Linked DNA regions of Homo sapiens: region 1 is linked to region 2. Evidence: promoter capture Hi-C in 16 types of primary human blood cells and fetal thymus (Javierre and others, 2016). All regions are on one chromosome and are shown on one strand. The core of a region is centred on a gene start or on the middle of the fragment in contact, and the rest is flanking DNA. Distances in the headings are between cores, read along the strand shown. Region 1 overlaps MYO16 (myosin XVI). Region 2 holds the start of LIG4 (DNA ligase 4).

The links. Contacts are between HindIII fragments. The CHiCAGO score rates a contact against its expected background, and 5 or more counts as called.
Region 1: a contact is called between a fragment that was not itself captured here and the fragment with the promoter of LIG4 in region 2, in 7 of 17 cell types (M0 macrophages, M2 macrophages, M1 macrophages and 4 more). The highest score is 17.8, in M0 macrophages.

Annotation. Positions count from the first base shown.
Region 1 is chr13:108,908,446-108,914,829 of GRCh38, forward strand. It overlaps MYO16 (myosin XVI), which reads left to right. Exons shown (of 35, transcript NM_001198950.3): 16 at 1,558-1,705. Among named protein-coding and RNA genes, the nearest start is that of MYO16-AS2, 190 kb to the right of the region's middle. The HindIII fragment of the contact is 2,770 bases long and covers 1,262-4,031 here.
Region 2 is chr13:108,210,217-108,216,896 of GRCh38, forward strand. LIG4 (DNA ligase 4) reads right to left here and starts at 5,320. Exons shown (of 3, transcript NM_206937.2): 1 at 5,268-5,320; 2 at 4,322-4,394; 3 at 1-1,080. The coding sequence starts at 1,052. RefSeq lists an enhancer at 5,245-5,539 and a silencer at 5,383-5,522. The HindIII fragment of the contact is 5,824 bases long and covers 3,785-6,680 here.

The DNA of each region.
Region 1 (6,384 bases), core at 1,397-3,896, 700 kb after region 2:
TGTAGACAATTAAATTGGGAGACATCACATTTTTGCTTTTAGTGCTGGACTTTAGAATAATTCTTAGCAAATTCATTACATGAGTTTTTTTAAAGTTCAAATGTATGAGATAATTATAACCATTTATTTGCCTTTCTAAGAACTGCCATTCTTTAACACCCCTCACCCAAATAATATTGACAATGGATTCTTACTTCAAAGAGGAAAACTGTAATAATTCACATTTGCATTTAAAATTGAAATGCAGGTCTGGCGTGATGGCTCACCCCTGTAATCCTGGCACTTTGGGAGGCCGAGGTGGGCAGATCACTTGAGGTTAGGAGTTCAATACCAGCCTGGCCAATATGGCAAAAGCCTGTCTCTACTAAAAATACAAAAATTAGCTGGTGTGGTGACACACACCTGTGGTCCCAGCTACTGAGGAGGCTGAGGCAGGAGAATCACTTGAACCGGAGAGGCAGAGGTTACAGTGAGCCAAGATCGTGCCACTGCACTCCAGCCTGGGCAATAGAGTGAGACTGTGTCTCAAAAAAAATAAAATAAAATAAATAAATAAATAAATAAATAAAAATATAATTGAAATACATAATCTGATTATTCATAATGATAAAAATAAACCTATATTAATATTTCAAATGCTCCAGAAACAATGAAATTTTCAGCATGCCAAACATACAGTCATAATTTTGACCAACGCTAGCTTCTGAATTGCTGATCTTCATATGTAAAGCAAAATTGAGGCTGTGATTACCATATTGCATCTTTTTGGCGTTGTTGATCAACTACTATCAAATAAATTTCAACACCTTGTATTTATGCATTGGGTTATATTTTATTTTATTTTGTAAAGTTTTGAAAACAGAGGACTAAATAAACATCAGCTAGTAGTCCTATTACCGCACATGTGTGGTGAGAATAAAAGAAGATGACTACACACTGTTCACACTGGACATGTGTTACTTAATAGACACCTCATCTACCTCATCCTCAAATACATTATGTGTATTAAACTATATCTGTGTGAATTCAAATTGCATTTTCCTTTGCTGCAGTGGGTTTCCTCCAGTGTTTCTGGCAGTGAGGGACCATGGTCTGTCTCCCTGGGCCTTCATAGTGCAGCCATATATAATTCTGATCTAGTTGCTGGGAATGCTTATCAGTGCCTTTAGTGGGGCACTTTTTGAACAGTGTAAGTTAATATCCATCATACCAACATGGCCGGGACTCTCAAACAGTGGGATATTAATGAGGAAAATTCCAAAGCTTATTTCAAAGCCTTTGTTACAGACAAGAGCAAATCTTGTTTCAAATTACATTTGTGCACCAAGTTCTTTGTTGGATATGGGACAAGGAAGGATGTCCCCTTAAACCATGTCTTTTCAGCATCGTATTGAAAGTCCTAGCTAATGCAAAAAGACAATAAAATAAAATGTAAATAGATGGGAAAGGGAGAACTCAACAGTCCTTGTATCTCTTGTAATTAATTAATATGTGTTAATTTATGGAAATGAAATGAATACTGCCATTTAACAGAATCACTTTTCTTTTCCCAACCAGCCAGAATTTATACATATTTGCTAGAGAAATCCAGACTTGTTTCACAACCTCTTGGCCAGAGCAATTTTCTCATTTTCTACTTGTTGATGGATGGGTTATCTGCTGAAGAAAAATATGGACTTCATCTTAATAATTTATGTGCACACCGGTGAGTGACTAAGTATTTTGTATCTAAAAGCTATGCCTTCAAATTGTGATTGCAATTTGGTAGTCTTAAATTATCTTCTTACTTTTCAGAGACAAAATGGTGAGTAAAAGATAACTGTTGGATACTGTTAGGTTGAAACCATCCACATAACAAGGTTCCCACTGTTTCTTGAATGGGTGAAGTTGTATGTGTGTGAACAAACTTATATTTTACTAGTTTTCAGATCAGAAAAAACTTGTGCAGATATAAACTCCTATACTCCTTTTAAGTATTTTGGCTATAACATGAGTTATGCACTCCTAATCCATGGCCCTGTTTTGAGATAATGGGCAATGTTATTTGAGTAAGTATGATTATTCATTGGTGTTGGATGAAGGTACATCATGGATTAAGATGCACAGCACACATAACCTCAGGGGCTGATTTCCTTTAATGGAGGCAGAAAGCACTTGTGTTAAAATTAGGATGCCTTGGTCATAGGAGAATGATGGGAGTGACAGGCTGTATAGACAGTGAGTGAAGAATGTATTCTCAATGTTTGCACTTCTGCTAACTGCCTGGTTTAGTGTGTCTCTGCCACAGGGATGGGTCCAGATTTGCATTAGGATGAGAACAAGAAACAATATGGGAAATGAATCCTGTTCTGAAGAGAAGTTGGTGGGAAAAGAGCACAAGAGAGAATTGGATTCTGATCCAAACTCAATTCAGTGGCGGTGGGGGGCGGTGGTGGGAACTAGACTCTGAGGACATGTGGATTGACTTCAGATACCTGCTGATACCTGATTTATGGCTTATTGGGTGTTTATTATTAGATCTAGGGGAACAGTGTGAGTTTGCACAATTTTAGGAGAACTTTTGTGAGAAAAAGGATGCTATAGGAGAAAACACACACACACACACACACACACACACACACAGAGAGAGAGAAGGGTTGCTTCACTCACCTTCATGTAGTCAAGACAGTGGTTAAGGCCAAGTGCTTATTGAGAGAACAAATTGGCGGGGGGCAACTTCCCCAGCAAGCCCTCCTCTTGAGTACACACATAGGCTGCTTTAAGCCTGCAAAAAAATATCTCCAGTTCTCTCTGCTTTGCTGTGCTATTTCCCCATCTGAAGCCATTATATTCTGGTTGGGGAGATATTAATAAACAGGTTGGTAATAGTTGAGGTGATATGATGAAAAATAAATGAGGGTTGGGGAACAGAGGAGCAGGTGGGTGTCCTGCTTTTAGATACGTTAATCGAGAGCCTCCTACCAGGTAGTACCTGTGGTAGAGACACCAGAGAGGGCCGTTCACAGATCTGATGTGGTGTCCAAGGGAGATGGAAGTGTACAAGGGGCCTGAGGAAACATACTCAATGTTTGAGGGACAACATGAAGGCCAGGATCTCAGATTAGAGTTGTATGGGAAAGAGGGAGGGTAATAGAGACAACATGAAAAGAACAGCCATGGTCAGAAATTTAGATTTCCTTCAGAGTTGTCTGGAAGTGATTGGGGGTTTTGAGTATGCAAGAGAATTGGTTTTCACTTCGAAGGTGATTTGCATCTGTGGAGATGTCCCTATGGTATTCCCAGCTGGAACCAGAGAGCTAAATTCCTGGTATGGTAGTGGGGAGGTGGTGTTAGCACTCATGGTAATGGTGGTGCAGGCGATGAGGAATGGGAAAACATGGGTTATGCTCTGAAGGTAGGAAGGTCAGGATTGAAGGATGCACTGAACAAGGGATATGAGGTAAAGAGATCAAGAATGATTCCTGTGGCTGTGGCCTGAGCAACACATGGTGTTATTGTGCCATTTACCTCGTGACAAGGCTAGGAGGGAACCAGGGTGCTGGGGAGGAGAAGAGTGGCCAGAGAACCAGTCCTGCTGGTTTTAAGACAGCAAGGTGGAGATGCAGGAGTGTCAGCAGGGTACTGGAGAGAGGAGGGACTTTCCAGTGTGATGGAGCCAATGTGAGGCTGAACTCCTAGAACTGCTTGGAGAAATTACAGGACAACCTCTGTCCCGCCACTGCTGTGAGGGGTGAGTGATAGTGCAGGTGGGCTCAGAGGAAGAGAATGAATTGGCCTAATTTACAATCACATTACTAATTATTATCATTAAATTTCAGTGAAGACATCCAGGGCTATGGATATGGTTTGTCATGTTGTGTAGGTAGAAAGTAGTCAGGAAGTGTAAAAGGCCTTATCAAAATTGTGTTTTATTTACAAAGAAAGACTGTTTTAGGGTTTTCTGTTCCCAAAATACAATAGAAGTTTAGAAGAAAAAGCTAATATTAAAGTATGGTAACCCAGGCAAAAGTGATAGAAATATAAAAATTCCAAGCTTCTAGGACATTAGAAATATTTTAAATCAAATCCCTTTATATTATAAAGGAGGAAATCAAAGCCAGAGACATGAAGAAGCTTGTACTCAAGTGAATACCTTTTATGCAGCAGCAGTATTGACAAAACCCACCACCTGAGATTAACTTTGTGATTTTCTACCTTGAACATCGCTAATTGAACATGTTGACCCTGGGAGGAAGCACCTAACTGGATTCTGGGGATTGCATGTTGAGAGATAGCCTGTGAGGAAGAGAAGAGTTTTGGGTTTCTCTGCTCCCAATCCTTCTAACGAGCAACAGCTCAAAGCCTCAAGCAGATACGTAGCTTAGAGTGCATCTGTGTCTATGTGTGTGTGTCTGTGTGTGTGCACGTGGGTATGTGCTTGGCATTGCAGACGTATGGCCACTGATGAAGAAAAAGGAATAATGTAACCTATAATTTAAATAAACAATTTAACTTCTTGATCTGTGGTTTGGATGAGTCTGTTGAAGTGTGTGAGTGTGTGGGAGAAAACAAGGATTTCTGTATTGAGCTTCAATTCTGACATTCATTTCTCTTTGCAAAAAAGAGTTTGGAGTCACTTAGGCTATTTAGAAAGTCAAACAGTCAGGGGTGACTTTATGAGGAGTTCCAACAGGAAAGAACTTAGGAAGATCGTGAATAATTCAGTTCTCTTGGACAAAGCAGTTATTTTATTGAAATGTATCATAAGTATCTAATGGGTGCAAAACAACATTTTCCATGAAAATATTCACCACCCACCACCCTCCAGATTCATGAATACATCAGTTGGAGCATTTGTACAATGACAATTTCACAGGAAAACTTTAACGGTAAAGCAAGCTGTTTTTCAAGTTATAACATAGTATGTATACAGTATTTTTTGTTGTTTATGTTATACAGGTCTTCTCACATTTATAATGTTGGTGGATCTTCTCACTTTTGCAATGTCGGTTGGGTTTGAGAAGTTCATATTTGTTTAATGTTTAAATTTAGGTTGGTATCTAATCTTTATTTGGTAATTATGAGTATTAAGTTCCATAGTTTTGGAAACTGTTTGGCTTGTTCACAATTAGAAATGTAAACCTGAATTTGCGAGCTTTCTAACCTTTCACAAACTGATGGTCTTCTGAATCCCTTCCTTAAAATTGGTACCCATAGGTAAAGGATATTGCTATTTGTAAAATGCTCAATACCATATGTTAAAGCAAACTAAATATGGCTGGAGGAGGACTCCGTGCTTCTGTATTTGAGTCCTTGTGGACGAACTATAACCTAGCTTAATAGGCAGACAAGACTGAAAACCCAACTTAGGTGTATGTGCCTGTAACAATAGCTGAGTCTTGGCCAATCCCAGCGGCCATACTTCAACCACTGATAGACTGCTGAGTGTTCAGTTGTTCAAATAGAGCAAACACCAACCTGTAACCAATCCAGCTGTTTCTATACCTCACTGCCGATTTCTTTATGGCACTTCCCTTTTTTTGTCTATAAATTTGTTCTGACCACGAGGCATCCCTGGAGTCTCTCTGAATCTGCTGTGATTCTGGGGGCTGCCTGATTCTACATATATGTAGTATATCTACTATTATTAAGTAGATAATTATATCTACTATTGTTAATAATTAGTGTATTTACTATTGTTAATATATGTATTATATATACTATATTATATGTAGTATATCTACTATTATTAAGTAGATAATTATATCTACTATTGTTAATAATTACTGTATCTACTATTGTTAATATATGTATTATATTTACTATATTATATGTAGTATATCTACTATTATTAAGAATGGCATTATTATTGTCACATCTTCTTGTCTGATGTTTTTCAAAATAATATTGCTATTCCTATGATGTAGAATAAACCAGCCTACATGTGACCACATGAACACAGCATCTCTTTGCTCACTCACTTATCCCACAGTGTAGCTTTTAGTGGAATTTGGATGAAGTACACTAAGTCCTAAAGCAAACACTACAAAACTTACAAGCCTTCTTCCTTCAAATTCATTCTCTCTCTTCTTCCTTCATAGCAACTCACTAGATACATGAATCAAAATAAAATATACATGCATCAGTAACTGTGAGCTAAAGGCATATTCAATACTTATCGTATCTTATGTGATTAGACCTCCAGAGAGAAGAAAACATTGCTGTAATTCCCTTTTTTTTCTTTTATTTGCTCTGTCGCCCAGGCTGGAGTGCAGTGGTGCTATCTTGGCTCACTGCAACCTCTGCCTCCCTGGCTCAAGCGATTCTCCTGTATCGGCCTCCTGAATAGCTGGGATTACAGGTACATGACACCCCATCTGGCTGATTTTTGTATTTTTAGTAGGG
Region 2 (6,680 bases), core at 4,070-6,569:
ATATCAAACTTAGTTCCCTTTTGCATGAAAGTTTGTGTATTAGGATTATAGGCCATCATCTCACCATCAAGAATACAGATTTGTATATCTGCTTTGAATGCATTATGAATGAATGGGGTAAGAGAACCTTCAGTAGGAGAAGCACCAAACTGATCAGTGTAGTTATATCCATTTCGAGAGAAGTATTTATATACATCTCCATCTTTGTGCATTTGCATACGTTCACCATCTAGCTTGGTTTCTATGTAGAAACTCTGATGTTTCATATCCTTCTCAATGTGCTCAATATCTGCAATAGCAGCTAGCATTGGTTTAAATGCAGAAAATAAAGTGATAGAAATATCACTGAGTCCTACAGAAGGATCATGCAGTTGCCTACAGACTTTTTCCAGATCTGTAGTGACATTATGCAACTCAGCAGCATCATTATGAAAAACAGAAAAGATAGTTTGCTGACTAACACCAAGCTTTAAATCCTTTATGATCATCCGTATAAGCCACTTTTGCTCAAGTGCTGAACTCTGAGTTATAAGTTGAAGAAGGCTCTTTTTTATTAGGTCTTTTCTTTTAGCAGAATTATTGCTGGCAATTGAGTCTAAAAGGTCGTTTACTTGCTGTATGGTTAAACTTCCTTTCTGTAAACATCTTGGCTTCAACACAAAATATGCAATCATTGCAAAGTCTCCAGCATCTCCATGAGTTCCAGTGGGTGTTCTGTAGTTTAAAAGTTTGAGGGCATCTTTTCCATCTCTAGGTAAATTAAGCAACTCAATATAAAGCTTAGCAAGCATAGTTTCTTTAATTCCATAGGCCATTCTCTCTCTTTCTAGCTGAGGAAGAATTAGTCTCATTGCTGGATAAAAAGAGTCTGTGACATCTTTGTGGTTCTTATGAAGAGCATCATGAAATTTTCTCCAAGAATCTAAAAATTCCCTGAAGTGTCTGATTTTTTCTGCACGTCCTTTACTTTTCTGTATTCGTTCTAAAGTTGAACACAAATCTGCAAAAGGAACGTGAGATGCAACAGTTTGTGAAGTTTGTGAGGCAGCCATCAAAGCGGTGATGAATCTTCTCGTTTAACTAGTAAAGCAAAAAGAGAATAACTTTAAGTAAAAGATAAGATTCAACTAAATATTTAATGTAAAGATCTTACAAAGATCACTGAGATCATAATAAATGTTTATTAATGTTTACTAAAAAAAAGATCAATGCTCTAAATGATGTATCTTTTCAACCTCTACATTTAATAACTGTTTTGCTCCAACCCTAATTTGAAGTTATTATGAAAAGTATCATCAGCTATATAGCTGTATTTCCTGTATTTATAATACAGAAATCATTTTAATTTTCTCTTTAAATTCCAGTTATTCTATGTATTAATTATTTAGCACATAATACAAACAAATATTGCTAATAATGGTGACAAAAAAACTCATCAGGCTTAATTCACTTCACTTCTGAGCTTCTGAGGGAAGGCCTTTCATGTATGTCTCTTCTTTCCCTGTCAGACTACCACATAGCACCAGAAATGAACTTGATCTTCGAACAGATATTTTTAACAAATCACTCATTTGCTGAACTGAAATTTGACTTCCTAGAAATCCTAATCATAGGCAGGGCCCTTGACCAAAAAACAAAACAAAGGAAAAAACAGGTACCCTCTTCTTCCAGCCAAACAAAGCCTACGTCTATGTTTCCTTTCACTTCTTCACTGCTAGCTATGCCAAATCACACCAGCATTCGATTCCAACTCAAAATGCCCTACCCATAAAATCCTCACTTTATCTATTTTACCATAGTTACTTACTGTCTTATAAGTATAAATTTATTAGTATGCTGCTTTTTTCATATTTCCATGCCAGTTATTCCCTGAGTATTTAATGACTACATATGAGATGTGCTACATACACTGTGCTAGGGGAAAATACTGCATGTTTCTGCTTTAAAAGAAAATATATTCTGTAAAAAAAAAAAAAGAAAAAAAAGAAAAGAAAAAAAGGGGGGGAGTGTAGTGGAAACTGAGTATAATAAAATGCCAAGTGCTTTAACAAAATAAAACAAACGTAAAATGTCCTGAGGGGAGAGCTTTTCCCTAAAGTATCTGCTAAAGTCAGAGAAGAAATAATGGGTACCTTGCTAAGCTAGGGCAAGAATATTTCCTAAAATTTCACAAGTGTAAATTTCTTTAGTTTTAAATATTCATACAAGTTCTACTGGAAGATAAATATATTAGAGTAATTTTAATATGGTTTAAACTATGTAATGTTAAATAACTTTTCCAAAAAAAGATTTCAAGTAAAATGTATGGTCCATGAATAGAAACTATGTTTTATCCTGTGGTTTCAGACCCCTCCTGGCACACCACCATGTATCCCAGGCAGTGGAGTTGGAGAAGTTTTGCTGGGAGTGGGGAGATCTATTACAGTGCAGAAAATATGTGACTCCCCATCTTCCAATTCGCAAACAAATGAGCAACACACACATGCACAAGGCTACATTATCTAGTATCCAGTAAAATAAATCAAATGGCTAATTACAATACTACATTTACTATACTGTCAGTATCTAGAGGCCAGGAATTGTGCTGTAATTTGTGCTCTAGTGGCAGACATGTAGGAGGTTTGCTGAATGAATTACTGAACACCTAGAGTTGACTCCTGGATAAGCACACTAGGGAAAGCTATGGTCTGGTTACATACCACACACTCACACACGCACGCAGACACACAGTGGGTGAGATTCAGTTTGGTTAAAAATATTCAGTAGCTCTGACTGCCCTGGCAATGGTTTACAACAGCCATTTGGTGGCCTATAGAGAAAAAAGGTGCACTTCTCAGTCTAATTTCTGACAAAGGAAACCCAGCTTCTACTGAGTGGGTTAGATCGAGGGATAAACGCATGACAGACCACTTTCCTGAAACTTTTATCTTTGAATATACTGTTGTTTCCTCTCTCTGAATCTGGTTTGCATAACTGACTGTAACACCTGGTTATGTATGTTCACTGCCCTATCTCCCAAAATTTGCTCCCTCAAGGGAGTAAACAGGGTACACAATGCTATATCTACAATTTCTATATAAACTATGTAAAATAAAGTAGGTTAACTAATATTTCTTTAATATTCAAATATTGGTATATAGTTTCTACAGATATATCTATAGATTCTACATGGTCTCAAAGTTAAAGTTTCGCTCAACAAATCCCAGGCAAGGACTTAAATTACTTTATAATGACAAAATGTAGGTAATGGTGTGGATACACATGTATCCTAAAATGGCTACGCCTATAACAAGGATTCCAAAATTGCCATAAACTAGTCGTAAGTATTTTTGCTCATTACAACGGCATAAAAAGTCAAAGATTAGGACTTCCATTCATTTTTACATGCTAATTTTATTTTTTGGATTCTGAGGATTTTAGCTGATTCATTCCATTTGCAGTAAGACAAATGAGGAGGTTCCTGGTTAGGGCTCAGGTTTTAGACTCTAATAAATCTGAGTTCAAATGTGGATGGTAACATTTAACAGCTGTGTGATACTGGGCAATTACTTAATTTCTCTAAGCTTCAGTTTCCTAAAGTATAAAATGGGGTTAAAAACTATGTAGAAATTAGAATGAAGATAAAAATCAGATAATCTACAAAATGTGCTTTAAAAAGTAGTAAGTCTTGATAATTTTAATACTATAATGCTTGCTGATCCAAGCAACATTTAAAATATAAATATTGCAAAATATTAACGAGATAAAAAGGTGGGAAGAAGCTTCACTCTTTAACAATAAGCAAAGCTTTCAGGAGAATGAATGCAAGCAATTAGTACACAATAACGATTCATCATTCATTCAGTTCTGACTAAATTGTCCTGAAGTGACACATGAAAATAAACCGGCAGGTTTTATTCAGTGACTATGGAAGGTGATTAAGTGCTATGCTATTGCACTTAAAAAAGAGAGAGGAAAAAAAGGAGTAAGTGACGAATGCAACTGAAGTATCCTTCATGCAACCCTTGACAAGCTGTGTTTCCCTAGGAAACAAAGGGTTTACAGCTGCCTATCTTCCACAGCACTTAGTGACAATTTGGGACAATCTCAGCAAAAAGAAATGAGCAGACAAAGACGCTAGAAGGGCTTTGGGATCCCAAAAGTTAATGAAAGACCAAGTGTAAGAAGAGAAATAAAGTAATTCCCTCCAAGCCTAAAGTCTCTCCCGCTCCAATGCCCCCTGTACCCTCTCGGAAAATGGAAAATCCCTAAGGAGTCTACATCATTCCTCTGCCCGTTCCCCCTACTCTCCCCCAACCCTTCACGGATTCCCAGTGAATACCTGGCCTCGGGCAAGCTCCGTTACCTCTGTGAACCAGAGAATCCCAGCTGTAAAATGAGATCTTGATGGTTTCCTGCGGGGTTGCCATGAGAAAGAATCAACATGTACGCAGGTAAAGCAGGCAATACAGTTCCAGGGAGTCAAAAACGGGAGAAATCGTCCCACGACCTGGGGCTTGGGTCTAGATGAAGAGCACAGCATCAGGAGGCCAGGCTTCTAATGCGGCGCAGTCTACAGCGCTGTGGACTCGGCAACTCCCATCACCTGCCGCTGCACAAACACCCTGCTTGCTGCCCCCATAGACCGACCCCCGCCTGACGCCTCCCAGACCCCCCCACCTGACGCCCCTCAGGCCCCCCGCCTGACGTCCCAGACACCCCCACGACCGGATCCCCCAGACCCCCAATCTGACGCCCCACTTCCCCTACTTGACTCCCCACACATCCCCCGCCTGACGACCCCCCGACCCCCGCCTGACGTCCCAGACACCACCCATCTGATCCCCCAGACCCCCAATCTGACGCCCCACACCCCCCACTTGACTCTCCACACACCCCACACCTGCCACCCCACGTAAACCCCGCCTGACACCTCACAGACCCTAACCTGACGCCCCACAGACCTCCCCCGCCTCCTGCCGCCACACACACCCCAAACCCCGCCCCGAACACCCCCCACCTGCCGCCCCACAGATTCCCCCCTCTGACGCCCCACAGACCCCCAACGTGACGCCCTACAGACCCCAACCTGACGTCCCACAGATACCCCGCCTGACGCCCCACAGACCTTCCCCCGGTCTGTTGCCCCACAGACTTCTCGCCGCCTGCTGGACCACACCTTCCACTTGACTCCCCCCACACCGTCAATCTGCCACCCCCCACCCCCCCCACCCCAACCCCCCCCAACCTCCCAACCGCCCCCACCTGCCACCCCACACCCTTCCCACCTGACGTCAAGCCTGAAGCTCAGCCGCTAAGCCGGAAGCTGGCGCCAGAAGATGCCGGTTCCGCCAGCTGCTCGCCGCGCAGGCGCAGGGGAGACCCGGGGCCTTGCAGTCACCGGGCTCAAGCACGCCGGCGCAGCCAGGCTCGCGATGGGAGGTGGGGGGGCCGGCAGCCCCGTGGGGCTGCGGAGGCGGGACCTGCAGGATCCTGGTTAGGGTCTTGAGTACACACGGCTCCTATTGGCCTCGGCAGCAGATGCTCTCTGCAAGCAGTTGATCCACACGCCAGTGGATTTTGTCTCGAGGGAGACCTAAGATCACTTTGTGCTCTGGCTAGTGATAGCCTCTAATTCTTGTTCTCTGTACGTAAAACAGTGGTAACTATACTGATTTCGCTGGTTGTGAAAACTCCCAAGAGAGAACAGGACATCCTCCCAACTCAAAACGTTGGTTGTTTCATTTAAACTTTTAAAAAATAGGCTTTTGCAAACTATATAGAGCTGTTTTTTTTTTTAAATGATGTTTGCTACTGTGGTCTCAGTTCTCTTAATACAGAAATAATACATAACAATACATAACTTACAATATAGAAATAAACCGTTGCATGACCAGAAATCAACTATGGACTCTTCTAGTATCTGTTTAAGGTTTAAAAATAAAGTTATTTAACAAACCTTTATTGAGCACCTATTATTATATAGTAATGGTGCTAGATATTCAGGGTGGAGAGATTATAAACAACCCCAGTTTTTGTGTTCCAGGAGCTGTTGGTTTCCACCGAATTTTTGCTGTGGTCAGTCCTCTTTCGCCATGGAGAAGTGAGAAGTTATTCATAAAGAGGGGTGGAAACAACTTTTAGAACTATTTTATTTTAGCATAAAATATTGCTTTACAATAAAATAAATTTTGCTGCAGTGGGCCCTGATAAAACATATTAGAGCTGTTAAGTGCCCTTAGAGGTTGTGTAATGTATAAAAACCTCCTTTTTCAAAACTGACACATTTCATTCAGTGCTAGTTTGTAGCGGAGGTTCCGTCTAGCCCAAGAACATTCAGTTATTTACTTCGTATGTCTAATTGACCTAATATGCCTGAATATCTAAAATCATCTGTGATGTTGTAAAGTCTCATGATATTGTTTTGTGAGTATCTGCTCTTCAATTTAGTTATCAATTTATTTTGGAGGAAAAATGAATAGTGTTAAGGTAGAGGAGCCTCCACTTGCCCATCTTAGGAGAGGGTACCTATCCGTGTACATTTGTAGCTTGTTCAACCTCTACTGAGCTCCTACAATGTCAGAAGCTGGACTTTGTATTAGTTACATGAGAAGAACCATGAATTATGAAACCAGGCAAACTCCAAATTGATTCAAAGCCCAGTCTCCATTTCATCATGTTATTTTAGTTGATTGGTTCAA